2 separate regions of the Homo sapiens genome follow, and region 1 is linked to region 2. The links are contacts of gene promoters, found by promoter capture Hi-C in human tissues and cell types (Jung and others, 2019). All regions are on one chromosome and are shown on one strand. Each heading gives the region's core, a stretch centred on a gene start or on the middle of the fragment in contact. The rest is flanking DNA. Distances are from core to core; before and after follow the strand shown.

What was found. The method cuts DNA at HindIII sites, captures the fragments that hold promoters and counts their contacts. A contact is called where the count stands out against the background at its distance.
Region 1: a contact is called between a fragment that was not itself captured here and the fragment with the promoter of SOWAHB in region 2, in 2 of the 25 tissues and cell types used here (IMR-90 fibroblasts and mesendoderm cells).

The regions. Positions count from the first base shown.
Region 1 is chr4:76,838,365-76,844,421 of GRCh38, reverse strand. It overlaps LOC124900866 (putative uncharacterized protein encoded by LINC00596), which reads right to left and starts at 2,764. Exons shown (of 3, transcript XM_047416557.1): 1 at 2,621-2,764. The coding sequence starts at 2,764. The HindIII fragment of the contact is 6,566 bases long and covers 1,217-6,057 here.
Region 2 is chr4:76,896,782-76,902,465 of GRCh38, reverse strand. SOWAHB (sosondowah ankyrin repeat domain family member B) reads left to right here and starts at 4,322. Exons shown (of 1, transcript NM_001029870.3): 1 at 4,322-5,684. The coding sequence starts at 4,617. RefSeq lists silencers at 4,162-4,231, 4,302-4,601, 4,862-4,971. The HindIII fragment of the contact is 8,540 bases long and covers 1-5,684 here.

The DNA.
Region 1 (6,057 bases), core at 3,250-5,749, 58 kb after region 2:
GAGTCTGATGTTCAAGGGTAGGAAGCATCCAGCACGGGAGAAAGATGTAGGCTGAGAGGCTAAGCCAGTTTAGCCTTTTCACATTTTTCTGCCTACTTTATATTCTGGCCTCACTGACAGCTGATTAGATGGTGCCCATCCAGGTTAAGGGTGGGTCTGCCTTTCCCAGCCCACTGACACAAATGTTAATCTCCTTTAGCAGTACCCTCATGGACACACCCAAGATCAATATTTTGCACCCTTCATTCCAATCAAGTTGACGCTCAGTATTAGCCTTCACATATGTGTATATATGAGACATATATATGTATATATAACTTGAATAGAAAGATATGTTAGCAGGTCTATCCCTGGGTAGTGCAACTATGGGAATTTTAGATTTTCTTTTTATAAATCTTTATATTTTCAAAGATTTATTTAATAATCATGCATTACTTTTATAATCAGCAAAAATAATCGTTGAATATTAAATGGGAAGGTAATCTTTTTAACGAAGGGGAAGAATCAGATAGGTCTGGCTCCTGGCTCATGACTTACCAGCTCTGTGACTTGGGGCAAGTTTCTTAACCTTCATAACTCTCAGTTTATGTGTCTATAATAAGAAAAAAAGTACTGCAAATTTGTGGGGTTTATATGAAGTTTAGATAAAACAATGCAAATAAAGCTTTTAACATTGTATCTAATAGAGATAAAGGCTCAAAAAAATTTAATAAAACTTCAGTCTGACTCTGCTGTGATCATGATAGCATGACTGGTAGTTCATTAGCCTTCCAGCAATAAAAACAAATTAGAAAACTAGACAAAATATATGAAACAACTATCTTCAGACATCGGACAACAGGCATGCAGAATTTTGATTACTGAGAGAAGGAAAACAAATTCAGTGAGCCCTCCAGCTTCCCTGGCTTTCTGGACTACAGTACAAGAAAAGGGATTACTAACAGAGTATGATAGCCTCGCTGAAATGAGGAGACACAGATCAGACTTTGGGGAGGTCAAGACAACAATAATTTATAAGGCAAGTTATCAGAGAGAAAGAGTATGCAGGCCAGGTGTGGTGGCTCATGCCTGTAATCCTAGCAGTTTGGGAGGCCGAGGAGGGCAGATCACCTGAGGTCAGGAGTTTGAGACCAGTCTGGCCCATATGGCAAAACCCCGTCTCTACTAAAAATACAAAAACAAAACAAAACAAAACAAATTAGCCAGGTGTGGTGGTGCGTGCCACCCAGCTACTCGGGAGGCTGAGGCAGGAGAATCACTTGAACCCGGGAGGCGGAGGTTGCAGTGAGCCGAGATCAGGCCACTGCACTCCAGCCTGGGCAACAGAGCGAGACTCTGTCTCAAAACCAAACAAACAAACACATAAAAACATTAGCCAGGCATGGTGTCAGCTGCCTGTAATCCCAGCTACTCGGGAGTGAGCCGAGATAGTGCCACTGCACTCCAGTCTGGGTGACAGAGCGAGACTCCATCTTAAAAAAAAAAAAATAAAAGGATCCAGAGAAGGGATTGCATAAGTATTCATAGGTGTCATTTTGAGTCTCTAGCCAAATACCAGACTGCATATGCGTAAGGTGAGACTCCGTACGTTGGGCACATAAAACAATTATCAGGGAAAGAAAAACTACCAGGGAACTGCAAACTGAATAATAATTGGAACTTACAGAAAGTTGAGAGACACTCAGTAGGGCCCAGAAAAGGCCACCCCCTAGGGGTAAGGCCAGAGTGGTCATAAAATAGAGGGTACTTTAGGCCCTCCCAAACAAAGCTTAAAAATAAGCCTCAAAAAGACTAAGCTAGGCTGGGCATGGTTGGTCATGTCTATAATCCCAACATTTTGGGAGGCTGGGGCAGGATGATCACTTGAGCCCAGGGGTTCAAGACCACCCTGAGCAACATGGTGAGACTCTCATCTCTACAAAAAATTTAAAAAATTAGCCAGGTGTGGTGGCATATGCCTATGGTTGCAGCTACTTGGGAGACTGCTTGAGCCCAGGAGACTGAGGCTATGACCACAACACTGTACTCTAGCCTGGGTGAGAGAGCTAGATACTGTCTCACACACAAAAAAAAAAAAAAAAAAAAAAAAAGACTAAGCTGATTCCCAACCAAGTTGACTGCCTGCAAGAATCAAGTACAACAAGGCCGGGCATGGTGGCTCACACCTGTAATCCCAGTGCTTTGGGAGGTCAAGGCAGATGGATCATTTGAGATCAGGAGTTCGAGACCAGCCTGGCCAAAGTGGTGAAACCCCGCCTCTACTATAAATAAATAAATAAATAAATAAAATTAGCTGGGTGTGGTGGTGCATGCCTGTAACCCCAGCTACTCAGGAGGCTGAGGCAGGATAATTGATTGAACCTGGAAGACGGAGGTTGCAGTGAGCTGAGATCATGCCACTGCCCTCCAGCCTGGGCAACAGAGTGAGACTCCATCTCAACAACAACAAAAAAAGAATAAAATGTTACAGTTTTTAAACATAAAAGGCCGAGCATGGTGGCTCATGTCTGTAATCCCAGCACTTTGGGAGGCCGAGGCGGGTGGACCACTTAAGATCAAGAGTTCAAGACCAGCCTGGTCAACATGGTGAAACCCTGTCTCTACTAAAAATGCAAAAATTAACTGGGCATGGTGGTGCATGCCTATAATCCCAGCTACTTAGGAGGCTGAGGCAGGAGAATTGCTTGAACCCTGGAGGCGGAAGTAGCAGTGAGCCAAGATCGTGCCACTGCACTTTAGCCTGGGCGACAGAGTGAGACTCCATCTCAAAAAAAGAAAAGGAAAAACATAACATTCACAATGTGAAAATCCAATAAAAACATTACTAGACATGAAAGAAAACATGAAAATGTGATCCTTAACCAGAAGAAAACCAATGAATAGAAATGGGCCCAGAAATGATATAAACAATGAAATTAGCAGCCAAGAACTTTAAGAGAATTATATTGTGAATATGTTAAGGAATTAACATATAGTGAGGATACAAGTATTAAAAAATAATACCAATGGAGCTGGGTTCAATAACATATGTATAAGTAAAAGGTATGACAAAGGCAGAGTAGGGAAATCAGATTGTTATAAAGGTCTAATATGATATATGCAGCAGTACAATTTTATTTGAAGGTAGACTGTGATAAGATAAGGATGCATATTGTAAACCCTAGAGCAATCACCATAAAAATAGACTAAAGATGTATAAACTGGCCGGGTGCAATGGCTCATGCCTGTAATCACAACAGTTTCGGGGGTTGAGGTGGCAGATTTGCTTGAGTCCAGGAGTTTCAGAACAGTATGGGCAACATCGCAAAACTCTATTTCTAGAAAAAATACAAAAACTAGCCAGGCATGGTGGTGAATGCCTGTAGTCCCAACTACTCAGAAGGCTGAGGTGGGAGGATCACTTCTTTAGCCTGGGAGGCGGAGGTTGCAGTGAGCCTAGATGGTGCCACTGCACTCCAGCCTGGATGACAGAGCAAGACCGTATGTATTGCCAAAATAAATAAATAAATAATAAAAAATAAAATAAAATAAAATAAATAAGTTATAAACCAATGAGGGACATTAAATAAAAAAAATCCAAAAGAGGCCAGGCATGGTGGCTCACGCCTGTAATCCCAGCACTTTGGGGGGCTGAGGCAGGCGGATCACGAGGTCAAGAGATCGAGACCATCCTGGCCAACATGGTGACACCCTGTCTCTACTAAAAAAGCAAAAATTAGCTGGGCCTGGTGGTGTGCACCTGTAGTCCCAGCTACTTGGGAGGCTGAGGCAGGAGAATCGCTTGAACCCAGGAGGTGGAGGTTGCGGTGAGCTGAAATCGTGCTACTGCAGTCCAGCCTGGTGACAGAGTGAGACTCTGTCTCGAAAAAAGAAAAAAAAAAAAAGAAAATAGGAAACAGAAAAAAGTGAACAAAGAAGAGCTGAGACAAAAAGCAAAATGGTTGCTATAAATTCAACAATTGCATTAAATATAAATGGACTAAATGCATCAATTAAAAGCAGAGATTATCAGATAGGAAAAAAAAACAAGACACATACATGTCTTCTAAAAGAAACACACTCTAAATACAAAAACAGAGGCTGAGTAATCTTAGCACTTTGGGAAGCCGAGGAGGAAGGGAACACTTGAGCCCAAGAGTTCAAGACCAGCCTGGGCAACAGAGTGAGACCCTATCTCTACAAAAAAAAAAAAAAAAAAAAAATCCAAAAAACTAGCCAGGCATGGTGGCATGTGCCTGTAGTCCTAGCTACGGTGGAGGCTGAGGTGGGAAGATTGCTTGAGCACAGGAGGTTGAGGCTGCAGTGAGCTGTGATTGTACCACTGGAAAGAGAGAAAGAGAGACAGAGAGAGAGAGAGAGAAGAGAAGAGAAAGAAAGAAGAAGAGAAGAGAAGAAGAAACTAATGTAAAGACGGAGTTTTAAAATAAATGAATCAAAATACACCATGCAAATATTAATCAAGAGAAAGCTGGCCGGGTGTAGTGGCTCATGCCTGTAATCCCAGTACTTTGGGAGGCCGAGGTGGGTGGATCACTTGAGGTCAAGAGTTAGAGACCAGCCTGGCCAATATGGTGAAACCTCATCTCTACTAAAAATACAAAAATTAGCTGGGCATGGTGGCAGGTGCCTGTAGTCCTAGCTGCTCGGGAGCCTGAGGCATGAGAATCACTCGAACCTGGGAGGTGGAGGTTGCAGTGAGCCGAGATCGTGCCACTGCACTCCAGCCTGGGTGACAAAGTGAAACTCCATCTCAAAAGAAAAAAAAAAGCTATATAGCTATATGAAAGTGAACTTTAGGACATAACTATCATCAACAATAGAGGGACATTTCATAATGAAAAAAGGGTCACTTCATAATGATATATGTGTGTGTGTGTAGCTATTCTAAATGTGTATGCATTTAATAACATATTCAAAATACATGAAAAACTGACAGAACTGAAATAGACAAAGCCACAATTATAGTTAGAGATTTTAATAATTTATAAAATAAATAGATAACCAGTAAGGATATAGATTTGAAAAAAAAACACTATCTACCAACATAACCCAGTTGGCATAGATAAGCACTACACCTAACAGTGGCAGAATACATATTCTTTCCAAGTACATACGGAATATTCATCAAGGGAGACCATAGGGTAGGTTATGAAGTAAGTCTAAATAAATTTAAAAGAAGTATATCTTCTGATGATAATGTAATACAATTAAATGAGAAAAATGTATCTATAAAATCTCTGAAATATTTGGAAATTAAACAAGGCACTTCTAGGCTGGGCGCAGTGGCTCACACCTGTAATTCCAGCACTTTGGGAGGCTGAGGCAGGCAGATCACCTGAGGTCAGGAATTTGAGACCAGCCTGGCCAACACGGCAAAACTCCGTCTCTACTAAAAATACAGGAAAAAAAAAAAATTAGCTGGATGTGGTGGTGTGCGCCTGTAATCCCAGTACTCAGGAGACTGAGGCAAGAGAATTGCTTGAACCCAGGAGGCGGAGGTTGTAGTGAGCTGAGAAGGCACCACTGCCCTCCAGCCTGGGTGACAGAGCGGGACTCTATCTCTAAAAAAAAAAAATAGAAATTAGAAGAGAAGTTAGAAAATATTTCCACTTGAGGCTGGGCATGGTGGCTCACGCCTGTAATCCCAGCACTTTGGGAGGCCGAGGCGGGTGGATCACCTGAGGTCAGGAGTTCAAGACCAGCCTGACCAGCATGGAGAAACCCTGTCTCTACTAAAAATACAAAATTAGCCAGGCATGGTGGCACATGCCTGTAATCCCAGCTACTCGGGAGGCTTAGGCAGGAGAATCGCTTATACCCAGGAGGCGGAGGTTGTGTTGAGCCAAGATTGCGCCATTGCACTCCAGCCTGGGCAACAAGAGCGAAACTCCATCTCAAAAAAAAAAAGAAAAAAAAAAGAAAGAAAGAAAAAAGGAAATATTTCCACTTGAATGACAAGGAAATATTTCCACTTGAATGACAATGAAATATAAAATGTCAGAATTTGCAGGATTCAATTAAACAGTGTTTAGAGGGAAATTTATAGCTTTAAATGTC
Region 2 (5,684 bases), core at 3,073-5,572:
GGCCCCAGTGGCCTAACAGGCTATGGTCATATTTCACGTCTTATCTAACTTGGCATCTTGGCATAGAAAGCTGTTCTTCCTCCTTCCTTGGTGCTCCTCTTCCCCTCCAGCTGCTCCTTCTAAGTCTCCCTGACAGGTTTCTTTTCCTCTCTCTTTGGTAAATGTGGATTCACCCTCTACCCTCATTTCTTCCCACTGCCTATATATCTCTTTCTAAACAATTTTGTTATTGCCTGTGGTTTAAATGACCATTATTTATAGATGCTAATGCCACACATCCTTGAGCCTTGAACCTATATTACCAACTGCCTCCTAGATATTTCTATCTTTATGGCCCATAGGCACCTCAAACTTAATATGTCCAAACTGAATTGATCATCTTTCCCATTTCCAACAACGACTGCTTTTATATTTTCTACTGAGGCGGATGGTAACAATTGTCCATGGGTAACAGTCATCCACTAACCCTCTGAGCTGACTTCCTTCACTATCCATTCATACCACTACACTCTTCCACAAGCTTAATTTGTATGCCCTAACCTGCCAACCCTCAACCTGGAACAGTTCAGTGCCTGCCTTCCCTGTTTCTAACCCCCCAGGGTATACTGTTCCCTAATGGAGAAAAACACACAGTGGTTGGTCGGGTGGCACTATATCCAGGCACTCAAGCTAGACACATGGGAGTAAGCCAACCTGGTCTCTCATCCTCAGACTACTCTGGCTCCAAATCCTATTACATGTATCTACTGAACACTTCTCCAATACATCTGTTCGTCTCCCTTTCTTGGCCACTGCTGAGCTCAGACCTTTTTCATCACTTTCTTAGATCATCTCAGTAACTTCTGGACTATTCTTCCTGTGGGCAGCCTCACCTTCCTCCTACAGCCTAAAGACTTGATATTGTCTCTTTCTTTGTTGATATTCATTTATGGGATTCTTTTCGTTAGTGTCTTTTTCAAACTAAAAAGTAATATATTCTCATTGTAAAATAGTTTATAAGGCTATTTAAAAAAATTAAAGTCACCCCGTATCCAGTCCTTAAATTTTACCCCCAAATACATATACACATAGTTTTTTTCTAAAAATAGGATCTTATTACACATGCCATATTTCTCTATGCCATATTCTATTTTAGGAGGAACTTTTTTCCATATTTTAACATCTCTAAAATCACAATGTGTCATACAATCAATGGTTCTTAGGTTTGGTTACATACAACATTGTTCTACAATGTACTCTTTTTACTTATTAATATTGGTCATGATTCCAAACCAACACTTACTTCCAGGAGATCTTTCTAAAGTACAAATCTGGTCAGGTTGCTACCCTTGGGAAAATTCTTCCAAGCCGCCCCTGCCCCCAAAGCCCTTCATCTTCTGATTCCCATCTACTTTTTCCCTTTCCAGCACATCCACACACATCGTCTTCCTTAAAGCCAAACAGGCCAAGCAGATCTATTGGCAGTTCATTCCCCAAATAGCGATGCTAAGCCAGCTCTTTGCCTTCGCACCAATGTTTTTTCTGCCTTAAAGCCTATTCTCACCTTTTTACTCAAAGTTAGCTCTTTTCTTTTCTTTCTTTGTTTGTTTTTTTTTTTTGTTTTTTTTTTTTTTGTTTTTTTTTTTTTTGAGACGGAGTCTCGCTCTGTCGCCCAGGCTGGAGTACAGTGGCGCGATCTCGGCTCACTGCAAGCTCCGCCTCCCGGGTTCACGCCATTCTCCTGCCTCAGCCTCCCGAGTAGCTGGGACTACAGGCGCCCGCCACCACGCCCGGCTAATTTTTTTGTATTTTTAGTAGAGATGGGGTTTCACCATGTTAGCCAGAATGGTCTCGATCTCCTGACCTCGTGATCCGCCCGCCTCAGCCTCCCAAACTGCTGGGATTACAGCTGTGAGCCACCGCGCCCAGCCCCAAAGTTAGCTCTTACTGGAAAATTGTCCTGATCCCCCAAGCTGAGCCTGAGTTCTTCCTTTATGCACCTCCCCTCAACTTCACCAGTATGTGGTGCATGTCTCTGTTAAATCACTTAGCACTCAGGTTCATGCCATTTCTCTTGTTGCTCCTTACTAAATAGAGAGAAATAGTGAATTCTCAAGTACACTTTCTTCTTTATACCCATTTCCAACAGTGTCAGGGTAATGTAGGAGCTTCATAAATATTTTTGGAAATAATGAACTGTATATGTGGGAGGCAGGAAAATTCTCCCTGAGATAATGTAAAGAGCTTTCCAATTAACCACCTCTTTATCCTGGGACAAGAGAGAGAGAGAGGAGAAGGTCTGGACACCAAAGTACCTGGGAATCCAGAAATCTAAAGCAATCAGATTTTTTTTTCTTCTTTTTGGCTCCAATCCTATTAATTCCACCCTCAACTAAAAATGATCTGATTTCAACAAACAGATGCTTTATAATCTCCCCTCACCTGGCCCTCCACTTTCTTTCACTCTAGTCTTTTTATTTCCTTTGAGTCGAAACCTCAGTCCATATTATGGCTCTCTTTTGCAGTTAGCCCCTTATTTTGTAACCAGATGTTTTAAAAAGTAGCAAAGAGGGATTCTTTCCACTTGCCATTCTAAAATGCCCACTTGAGTCTTTCATTTGGTGTTCCTCCTGCCTTAGGTATGGACTCACCTTACTCAGTCCCAACAAGACTCTATACCAGCAAATAAACTCAAAAGAAAGCTGAAATTTAATACAAAACCTTAATTTTAAAAACTATCCTAAAGGCTTGATGTTATGTAGAGACATCAGTGAAAACCACTATCCCTCTCTCAACCCAGTATTGGGTTTGGATCCTAGAAAATGCCAAAAATAGACAAAAATGTTTCCAGTTCTTTTTTTCTGACCTAGATAATGTAAAACCAAAGATTCATTCCTGGAAAAGTGCTAGGGTATTTTTGGGGATTTAAAATCAAGCTCAGTTAATGTGGTCTATAGGGCAGTCACTAAGATTGGTCCATGCTAAAACATGTCTTTGTCAACAATTGTAGGGCCAACACACATACTTTCAATACTCTTTCTTGGCGAGAAGTATAGGAACTATGAGTAATCAGAAATAGAAGAGCAAAAGGAAAAGTGAAAAGATGAGAAGAGTCCATGAGAAAAGAGAGGCAAATTACAGGGAAGGAGAAAATCGAGGTTTTTGAATGGGAAATACAGTGGACATGAGAGGATCTGAGAAACAGACATATTTCCTGTCAGTAGAGGCCGAAGGTAAACAAGGATGTCGTGTAACAGAAAGAAATGGGAAGGCCAAGTTAAAGAAAAGAATGAGAGAAGGCTTGGAACTAAAACAGGTAAAGAGATAATGACAGTGAAAACTATCTCAGGCATGTCAACAGGACTGATAAGGAACAGTGAGGGACATCCAGGATCTCACATCAAAGACAGAAGGGTCAACATGTGGAGAGAGAAAAAGGAAGAGGGATCCCAGCTGTTAGGGGGAAAAGGTGCTGTTAAAGACAGCTCTAGTCTGCATTTTGAACCTTACATTCTGAAAGGAAGCACTTCACCAAGCCAATACAAAACACTGTACAAATCTCTGCTGTTCACAAATTTTAGAGTAAATAAAAGCAAACTAATGCTACACATCAAATACCTTAACTGGCGAGACATAATTCCTAGTTCATTTTAGCCGCCGGGGGCAAGAAGCTATCAAAGTGATTTTTTTTTTCCAGCACCTTAATGTGAGACAAGTATGAAGGAAAGACAAGTATGAAAGAAAAAGTCCCAAACCAATATTGCCCAGTAGTAATTTTCAGAGTGATTTCTCTTTTCAGTATAGACTTGGATGTATTCGGACCCCTTGGAGGGGGCGCCGGAGAAGCGGCCCAGAAAGTATTTCTATATTAAGAAAAATTTAGTTTGGATGCAAAGTGAGTTTTGCGGACCTCAATACAGCCTCGAGAAATCTGAAGTACTCCTCTACAGCGTTAATAAAGAAAGATAACTCAGATTGCCTGTTAACTTGCAGCTTCTCCTCCTCCCCCATCGGCTTCAGCCTGAACTCATCAAAGCACCGGAGGACAGGAACGGACCTTCTATCGCTTTTGTTTCCTGCGTGGCGGAGACTTAGAGGAACGGCCGGTCGCCTACCTGCCTTCCACTTCCCCGGCCGCAGAGCAGTTCGCTGCCGGCTCGGTTCGCCGCCAACCTCACCTACCGGCTGGCTCTCCGGCCTGACTCTTCTGGGATGGGTGGCAGGGGGTGGGGGAGACCTCAGGGGGCGGAGGGACACGAGGAGGCGGGCCTGACCCTTCCCCCAGAGGCAGGGAGGAGGTGCCGCCAGGGCGCAGGTGAAACCGACTCGGCCCTATCCCGGGAACTTTCGCTGTGAGGACTCGTTGCGAGAGGCTAGAGTCGCGCAGGGGCGGCCTCGGAGCCGCCCTCTCTCACGCAGACTGCCGCGGGGACTCAGCCTTGGGGCCACCCGGAGGGGACCCACGGCCCTCCTGGCGCGCTCACGGGCTGCGGGCAGCGCTGGCCTCCGCGGCTGATGGGGGCGGCTAGTGCCGCCCCGGGCGCAGGTGACACTCGCCCGGCCAGGGTTTCCTCTGGCTGGGGAGAGCCCCGGGAGGGCGAGACTCAGACACCTCTGGGGCGGAGGACAAGGCAGCGATGGCCCGAGAGCTGAGCCAGGAGGCACTACTGGACTTTCTGTGCCAGGCTGGGGGCCGCGTGACCAACGCTGCCTTGCTGAGCCACTTCAAGAGCTTTCTCCGAGACCCCGACGCGTCCCCCAGCCAGCACCAGCACCGCCGCGAGCTCTTCAAGGGCTTCGTCAACTCGGTCGCCGCAGTGCGCCAGGACCCCGACGGCACCAAGTACGTGGTGCTCAAGAGGAGATACAGGGACCTTTTGGGGGAGGAGGGGCTGCAGCGACCCCGCGAGCCGCCCGCGGCCGCCCCCAGTGCAGGGGGAGCTGCGCCCTGCTCCCCGCGAGGCGCGCGCCGGGGGGAGCCGCCCCAGCAGCAGCCCAGGCGGCGGCGGCGCGAGAAGGAGCCGGAGGAGGAGCCAGCAGGTGCAGCAGCCAGAGCCGCCGACGCAGCTTGCAATGGACTCCCGGGCAGCGACTCCCGTAGGGCGCCCGGGAAGGGCGGCGGATCGAAGGGCAGTCCCGGACAGAGGCCGCCGGTGCCCGCAGCTGCAGCGGCAGGGGCCCAGGCGAGAGCGAGCTGCGCGGCGGCGAAGACGCAGGGCCGCTGCTGCTGGGAATGCCTCCAGAACAACCTGGCTGTACTGCCGGGAGAGCTCGGCGCACTCCCGCACTCGGCCACCGCGGAGGAGAAGCCGGCACGGGCTCTGCCTGCCCAGGATGACCGCGGGGCTTCCAGGGAGCGGGAAGAAGGCGCGCTAGCTGAGCCGGCGCCTGTGCCTGCAGTGGCTCACTCGCCTCCCGCCACCGTCGAGGCTGCGACAAGCAGGGCTTCCCCGCCTGCTCTCCTGCCCGGCCCCGCTCCCCGCGGAGACCGGCCGGAGCTGCTGACCCCCAGCTCCCTGCATTATTCGACCCTGCAGCAGCAGCAGCAGCGCACTCGAGAGTGGGTGGCCAGGCACCCGCAGGTGCCCGAGGCCCGTGATCAGGGCCCTATCCGCGCCTGGTCGGTGCTGCCAGACAACTTCCTCCAGCTGCCCTTGGAACCCGGCTCCACGGAGCCTAATTCAGAGCCGCCAGACCCCTGTCTT